2 separate regions of the Homo sapiens genome follow, and region 2 is linked to region 1. Evidence: promoter capture Hi-C in human tissues and cell types (Jung and others, 2019). All regions are on one chromosome and are shown on one strand. The core of a region is centred on a gene start or on the middle of the fragment in contact, and the rest is flanking DNA. Distances in the headings are between cores, read along the strand shown.

What was found. The method cuts DNA at HindIII sites, captures the fragments that hold promoters and counts their contacts. A contact is called where the count stands out against the background at its distance.
Region 2: a contact is called between a fragment that was not itself captured here and the fragment with the promoter of TLL1 in region 1, in 1 of the 25 tissues and cell types used here (mesenchymal stem cells).

What each region holds. Positions count from the first base shown.
Region 1 is chr4:165,871,016-165,875,322 of GRCh38, reverse strand. It overlaps TLL1 (tolloid like 1), which reads right to left and starts at 2,086. Exons shown (of 21, transcript NM_012464.5): 1 at 1,250-2,086. The coding sequence starts at 1,418. The HindIII fragment of the contact is 12,105 bases long and covers 1-3,239 here.
Region 2 is chr4:165,696,816-165,701,122 of GRCh38, reverse strand. All of the region lies in intron 3 of LINC01179 (long intergenic non-protein coding RNA 1179), which reads right to left. Among named protein-coding and RNA genes, the nearest start is that of LINC01179, 14 kb to the right of the region's middle. The HindIII fragment of the contact is 5,002 bases long and covers 11-4,307 here.

The sequences.
Region 1 (4,307 bases), core at 837-3,336:
AGCATTTTTCTTCATTGTGTACACCTCTCCTTCCTCCAGGCCCAAGAGAGGGTGAATAATGCTTATCTAGTTATGGAAGGGAAGAAAAGCTAGTCACAGAGCAACCCCGCACGGAATCTGCAGAACCCTAGATATATTTGACTTTGTCCACTCCCTTCCTCTGCGCTTCGCTAAAGCCCACACCTCTTGGGATGGAACCTAACGTGCCTTCCGCTTACAAACCGCTCTGCTAGGTTAGCCCCAACCACCATGCAACCTTTACGAAGTTACTTGTGCGTCCACACTGAGCGCGGATCACCTCAGCCACAGCCCAATAGAGCAAGGAACCAGGAGCTCCCGAAGCCCGGACACGAGCCGCGGCCAGTGCTGGGCGCCCTCAGGCGCTGCGCTCACGTGGTAGCGGCCCCGGGCACGTGCGCCTCCGACCTTAGGCGGCGAGAGGGAAGCGCCGCCCCGCGCGCGCGAGAGGCTGGCAGCGGCGCCAGAGGCGTAGAAGGGAGGGGAAGGACCTGGGACATTCAGGGACCCTGCGAGGCAAGAAGCTGAGCTTCAGGCAGTGCCGGTCCGACTGCATTTCCCTGGGGTGTTAGCTGGAAGGAAGACACAAATTTGAATGGGGTAGCAACTTAAAAACATTTTTCTTTTCAGTTTATTTTAAATGGGCAAATGCATCAGAATCCCATCTAGAAGTGAGTTCTTCCGAGATTGTCACAATCCCTTTCTAGCCTGGAACCCACACTTGAAATTCCTGGTAAAAGAGGGAGCCAAGGTGTCTCCAGGTAGCAATGCCATCCTCCTGTATCTTTTGGGGAACCCTGCCAACTCGCTCTCGAACAAGCGCTGGGAAACCGCGCCCTGGGGGAGAGGGGAAAGAAGACGGTGTCCCTTCCATATGCATAAAGCCCGCTGAGTGTTGGAATTTAAAACCTACAGCAGCAAGCTATATTTACGACTTGTTTCGTTTTGCTGGGGGAGGGGAGAGGGATCAGAAACTCTAGGACCTTATTCCCAAACTGGGAGATGGGAGCTTGGCAGTGGATCCCACTGGCACAGAACTCTAGTCAACTGGGGCCGCAGCGGCTGCCACTTGCGGGTGGGGAAGGGAAGGAAAAGGAGGGGGAGAGAAGGAGGGGCGGCGGAGGGGCTGACGCGGGAGGGAAGGAAACAGGTGAGCTCCCACCGCCACCCATGGGAAACCCAGCGCAGCGGCCCCCGGCGCGCCACCGTCCCAACCTGGAGAGCCACTTACCGGCTTTACACGGGTCCTTGTAATCTATAGTCTCTGTTTTATCCTCTTCGTTCCCATCAAAAGTGTAATCATAATCGAGGCCAGCGCAGACCCATAGCTCCCCGTAGAAAACAATCCCCGAGGCCACCAGCCACACGAGCATCCTCGGGGAAAGCGTTCCCAACCCCATCCTCCTCCCCCGGAGGAAAAGGAGGGGACGGGACCCAGAGGTTAGGCAGCCGCGGTCCGCGCTGATGTGCGGGGCTAGGGGCACCGGTGCTCTTCTCCCCACCCGGAGGCTCCTCGGCGGGACCGGGGTGCTCAGGTGTCCGGAAACATGTGGATGCCGCCGGGACAGTAGAGAGGGCAAGCACTGCCTGTTACCCCCAGTCGCAGGGAGAAGTTGGCTAGGGGCCCACGGGTGGGCGGAGGGCAGGTAAGGAACTCTGCACTCGGAGGCGGGGAGGGCGCAGGCAAACTCGGCTCTGGCGGCGCTGGCGCTCGCAGCCTGCCAGGTCGTCCTTCTGGCTGCCGAACTTCCCGCGGCCGCGGCTCGGCGAGCGGCGCCCCGCGGGCTCAGCTGCCACCAGAGCTCGGACTCCCGCGCCGCGTCCCCGCTGCTGCCAGGACTCCGCGGCCGAGCGCGAGCCGCCGCCGCCTGAGCCCAAAGCCGCCGCCGCAGCTCCGAGAAGATGAATCCGGTCTGCACATCAGCACATCTGAATTGAAAGGGGAGACCGAGGAAGGGGGTGGGGGCCAGGCATTTCTACGCCGCGAGACCTTAAAAGCCTGCAGAAGCCAGCAAAGCAACTGACTGCAAGAGAGCAAAAGTGTGAGGATTTGGGGATGCACTGTTTGCCTTCCCCCCGCCAGCCTGTCTTTTTACCCTCTTCCTAACTTGAAAAAAAAAAATATTCGCACCATCTAACCCAATCACTTGCATCCTGCTTACTTATTCATACAATCAGGGTCAGGATCCGGACCACAGCCTCCTCTCTTGACTTCTTTTGATAGCCTTAGACAAACAAACAGACAGGAGCGCGCTGACAATTCCATTTATATTTTACCAAAGATAAAAATGAATATATTATGTATCTGTGTACGCAAACAGCAATTAATAGATGATGTACGTGTCAGTTGAGAGTGCCAGACCGGGGGTGGAGCGAAGGATCGTGATAACTTAGCTGCAAATCCATATTTCCCCTCCCCCCAAATAAACAGCGAGTGTGTATTTCTTTCCTTTGCTGCTGTTTAACCTTAGAGCAGCGCAGGAATGGAGGAAAAGTGTGCGAGTCTTCACGATTTTGGTAAGAAAATAAACAGACTACTGTTGGTCTCCTAACCAACAAAGTTTTGCTAAGAACTAAGATCCTCAGAACTGCAATTAAAAAAAAAATCCAAAATCGAGTTACAGATTGCAGCAGCAGGAAACGCTGAGACCTTGCCGATGGGCTGGCGCTATGGCTCACGTGGGCGCAGGAAGGGAAGCTGGATGGAATACTCGGGAAGCAAATTTTCTGTGACAGTTCTGGCGCCCATGAGCAGAGTTGCTCAGTATCCTTCGGCTTCAGTAATGTTTTACTTCTTCAGAGGAGAGGGTGTAAAACCTGGCAGGAGGGTCAGCGAGGTAAACCACATGTCAGCCGAGCAGACTCAAGACAAACACAGGTTGTGGGAAATTGGGGAGGAAAAAAATCAGAGGAAATCTCTGTAAAACCCCTGTTGTGAGCAATTCCGAGGTTTCCCCACATCTGCAAGTAGTTTCCAAAATAGGTGAGATGACTTCTCCCCCAACAAGCTTCCAAGGGACTGGTGATTGGGAGCTTTCCTTTTCCAACTAAATCTTTAAAACTGTCACTTTAGCAAGGACTTGTAAAAAAAAAAAAAGCCTTACATATTATTTGACTAGTGTTCCCCCTATCCAAGTTATCATCTAGAGGAATGTATGAAGGTAAACACACACACACACACACACACACACACACACACACACACACAACTTTGACAGATAAAGTCATCTTTGGTTTGGAGATTTTACTAGGTTTTATTCATGTTTGTTAGAGAAAAGTAAGAAGCCAATCTTGAAAAAGTACCAAGTATTTTCAACTTAAACTAAAAGTATAGGAAGGCTAGGTGGAACTGAACTGACCAAGTGTTCTTTGCAAAACTGGGTCTTTCTCAGAGGCCACTGCAATGATGGAGCTTCCCTTCCATAGATCTTAAGCTTTTAATGCCCAGGATACAGAGCAGAAGTAGATTTTTAAAAAGAACATGTTCAATAAGCAGGTAGAGGCGTTTGATTTTGAAATCTCTTGCTGAGTCATTCTCAAATTCTCTTACCCATCCAAAAAAAAAAAAGTTTGCATAATTAATAATAGTGTTGCCCTAGTGCAGAGCTCAACAAGAATATGTCCTGCTTAGCCCATCTGAAAGCCTAGAGAATGCATATGTCATCTAGAGGATTCCTGCTCTTGAGCTGCTGACAGTGTTCCCATTCCCTATCCCAAACCTTAAAAATGTCCCTTGTTAATCTAAATGCCTGCAAACATCTCCTTAGACTATTTTATCATGTGTAAATTTGCAAGAAGTTTTACCTGTGGTTTGCCTAAACATCACTTACTTTGCAGGAATAAATATGTTTTATTCATTTGTTCTGGGAAAAAAAGTACTGTATAGGGATAATAGCTTCATTATGTATAATGACACCTATTACTTTTAACATGTGTTTCATTATTTGGTTTTATAATTTTATGAATTTGTAGTCCAGAGAGTTAGAATGATTTTCATAGTAGAACTTCAAGTCAAAATACAGGAATGTTTCTTTACAGCTAATATACTTGCAGAGAATACCTACATCACAATACCCAGGCTTAATCCCTGATTTATTTTTAAATATTAAATCTAACTCTAGGTTGTAATAAGAAACTTCATTTTTTTAAACTAATTTTGTCTCTATAGTTGTTATGATTACAAACTAAAAATAGATTTTTCCTTGTCCATGAAAGAAACATAAATTTGCAAGAATATGTATGTGAGCAAGGAGTTGATTGCTGTGTCATAGTATAGCTGCAGACACGCA
Region 2 (4,307 bases), core at 1,262-3,761, 170 kb after region 1:
TCAGATGTCTGTACTTCAACCAACCAATTAGGACAGAAAGGAGGATATCTTGCTGGCACTTGGGGCAGGTCTTCCTCTAGCCTCCAGGTGGCAGGGCTGGTCCCACAGATGGAAGGACAGAAAGGTGAACAGACAAAACTATAGATGCCCACTATAGACCTACCCCAAAATACTGATGTAGTTTAATCTGGTTTTAGTTCTTATAATTAAGATGTTGAGTATAGTAACTGTAGTATAATTTAATCAAGTAAGTTAGATTACAGTGGGTTTTATACAGCTATACTTCTGCTGTAACTGAAAATCTACTTTTTAAAATTATTATTATTTTTAGAAATAGGGTCTCTTTCTCTGTTGCCCAGGATGGAGTGCAGTGGCATGATTATAGTTCACTGTAACGTCAAACTACTGCTCAAGCGATTCTCTCACCTCAGCCTCCCAAGTAGCTAGGACTGCAGGATCATGCCACAACACCCAAGTGTGTTTTGTGTTTTTTTGTTTGTTTTGTTTTGTTTTTAGTTTTTAGTTTTGAAGAGACAGGGCTTCACTATGGTGCCCAGGTTGGTCTTGATCTCCTGGCCTAAAGCAATCCTTATGCCTTGGCCTCCCAAAGCACTGGGATTACAGGCATGAACCATGCTCAACCTTCTACTTTTATTTGAAGGTAAAACTGGCTTACAATTGCTTTTAAACTAAAAACTAACAGTGAAATCTGGAAACCATGATCCCAACTTTGCACGAAGAGTAAATGAAAAAAGCATAGATCTGAGACAAAAATGCTACTGATCCCACCTGCAGGTCAGCTCTATAGTCAGAGTGTTCTTAATCTCACCTCTTCTTCTGATCATCCTTCCTCTTCTACTTTAATCACTTCTGTATTTCAGTAGGTTGAAATGACCTCTTATTGCACATTGAAAATCACATTTTCAAGATGCTCCTCAATTCATATATGGATAAAAAAGGTATAGAAAAGGGAAATTCACTTGTCCTGCTCTTGTAGAAAAAAAAATAAGCATTCTCATTGAAATAATTTAAGAATAAAATATGAGAACACAAGAATTTCCTTGGTAGAGTCTTTATTTCATAAATTAGTTCCTAAAACTGTAGAAGTGTCTGGGTGAGCTTCTCTAGGGTACTGGGGATGATTTTCATTTGGTGGGAAGAGTTTCAAAAAGCAAATTTCTACATCTTTTAAAATCCTAGCCTGTTTTCAGTACGCTACCATTTAAAAATATTACGCCTACCTGAAAATCAAAAGGTATCTATATATGTAAAAATAGGATGATCTTAGAATTTGTTGCCTAAGCTTGAAGACTTTTGAGATTGAAAGGGGGGCATTATTAAAAATATGGCTGGACAGCAGAGTAAATTGAAACAGTTCTTCCCAAATCAAATCTTAAAATCACTCTACTTAGAAACAACAATTGATCAATTTGGCTTCCCATTATGCTCCATTTCCTACTCATATTGTAAAAGAAAAAAAATCCTTTGCTTTTTTGAAAAATGGGGAACGCTACAATTGACTTATTTTCCATGAAACATTCATGTGTAACTGGCAAATTTTAAAAAAGAAAGCTGATTATGTATACTGTCTTAAATCACAGAGATGCCATTTAGAATCTATAGTTTCCTAGCCCAGCTAGAGTCAGTAAGTCAGGCCGTAACACACTGTTACCATTTGGACTTGGCCAAAAGAAAACGAGGCCTTGAAAATCCTCAACTGTGGTGGACCACAGCCTCACCCCTCTCCCACGGCTCTGGAGATTTCCAATGGGCTGAGGCCTCTCTGTCCAACAGCAGAGATGAAGCCATAAATCAGACTTTCCTTCGAATCATGGGGAGAGGACTGGGGCAGTTACTGGCTATGTTTGTTCTCCACAAAGGCCATTCTATCCCGACTTGTTCAGAGCAGTTACTTTCAGATTTAAACTGAAAGGAATGCATCGATTGAGTACTGCACACACTTAAAGTGTAAAAAGAAAAAAGCAGAAATTATTTTGAAATAATTCTGTTTGCCAGAATTACTTAGGCTTTGAGCTTTTCTTTCAACCCATTTCCAATTTCTAGCATTATGTTGTCATTATTCAGTTATGATATAAAACAATATAGATATTGATACAAGGCATTACTGCAATGCACATTCTGACTGCTGTGTTCTGCCCATTAATTCCTGTACTTCTCTTACTCTCCAAAAACTATGAAATCTCTTAGTATTGGTCATCATTTAAATCCCTCATCGATATTGGAAAATCTCTCCTCTTTCTAAGTGTGCTTTCGTTCTGTGTTTCTCTCATAAGGTTTTCCCACTGCCTATTCATGGAAATATACATTTCATTTACACAATTATAAAGCACATTTTTTTAACTCCATGGCCTGCTTCCCATAATTCTAAGGCACTCAGATATGTCAGATAGACATCTCATTCTCTTCCTAAATGGAAGGTAAGGAAAAGCAGGTGACATTCCAAGAGCCACATTAAAAAAAAAAGTCTCTGGTAACTGTGTTGAGATATTAAGGCCAATGGTCCAATTATACACTATTAAATTCCATGAGTGAGTAGGGATTCGTTCCTTTATTTACAAGGACCACCACAGTGCTGGATGAAGCCACTTAAAAGTGAATTCTGTCAACTTGTGAAGAGCAATTCTCTAGTACCATAAGTCTTTCAAAGTATGATTTATTGCCTCCAATAACACTTAAATATAGGCTGAAATCATTCAATCATTTTTTCACGGATTCAAATAAATTTGTCAGAAAGTTATAAATCATAGCCCAAGGATAGAGAGGGAAGCCTATAATATTCTGCACAGTATCCATTTGGGGTATGAATCAATCAATTGTGCTCATGATAAATTGAACAACTTACGTGCCTCACACTATTAAAAATAATTTTAGTGAATGAGTCACATAATTTTCTTAGTGGTATGCAATAGTCTTTTTTAAGCTTGTGAAATACGTTAAATGTTAAAAGAAGGAAAGGAACACATACCCACATGTATATATAGATATATATGTATACATCTTTATGTGTGGATACATGCATAAACTACACATACACGTGTTCACAGATATAAATCATGATAGAGAGATAGAGGGGGAGAATAGATATACGTGTATAGAATGAATTAATCACAGACAACAAACAGAGATGTTTAGAGTTACAATAGTTATTTACCAATGTGGTGTAGTGTTTGGTGTATGCCAACTGAGTAAATGATCCTTTCTCTCCCACGAGCACAGATCTCCACAGTGCTAAGTTTACGAATTCAGTTTTCTACAGTTGTAAAGACTAAATAGGATATTTCCAGTTCATCATTATGAGCTCCTAATTTTATGAAATGTAAAAGACTCATAGATACCCAAGGTATGCAATGGAAGTCATCTCTTCAAAAATAACAGGCATTAGGATTTAACTTTAGTTTTAAGGCCTTAGGGCTTTTAAGTGTTTAGAAAACTATTCAAATGATAATAAAACTGAGAGCACAGCTGCTTTTGACAGTTTATGTTTCTTCTAAGCATCACGACTAACTGTGACTAATCCCTCCAAATTAACTTAATTTTGTAGAATGAAGCATATCAAAATATTGAACAAAATCCTTCTTGCGAAGATGAGCCAGATTTGCACATTCACCCTTCTTGACTGTTGCAAAGTCACCTGGGGACACTTAACATTCCATAGTTCAACAACCCTGGCCATTTTTTACTTCTAGGGAGTAGTAAACTTTTACTTTCTTATTGGAATATTTTATACCTGAATATAGTTTATGTCCCAGTTTTTACTTTCTTATCTTACTAATAACTCACTTTTAGACAGAAATAAAGGAAGGGGACTTCAGTTGACAATAAGAAAAATGACTTAAGTGAACAACAAAGAAATAGATGCCAAAAAAGCCCTCTTCTTATTTTTGTTTTAAGTATTTATAATTTTTTCATTCGAATAATACCTTTGTAGAATTTGGCGTGTTGGCTAGATGATTTTAAAATGGATGATAATTTATATTCTGAAGCATCCCATGCCCACATAGCAATGGGATTGGAAAATACTTTTGGGCCACTCTCAGCAATGATTGTGATTCTCGGATTCTCAACAATTTACTCTGAGCAGGTAAAATAAATTCTGAGTAGCAAAGAAGAAGGTCATAAATTTTCCATAATGTAATTATTATAATTGGGTTACCTACCTATGGAAAAATGCAAGTTCAAATGCACAACGTTCCAGATGCTGGATTGATAAAAGCCTGAAAATTAGTTTTTAATAAAAACTGTTTGTAATCTAGCCCAAGGTATGTCAACGAACCAAATGTGCATGA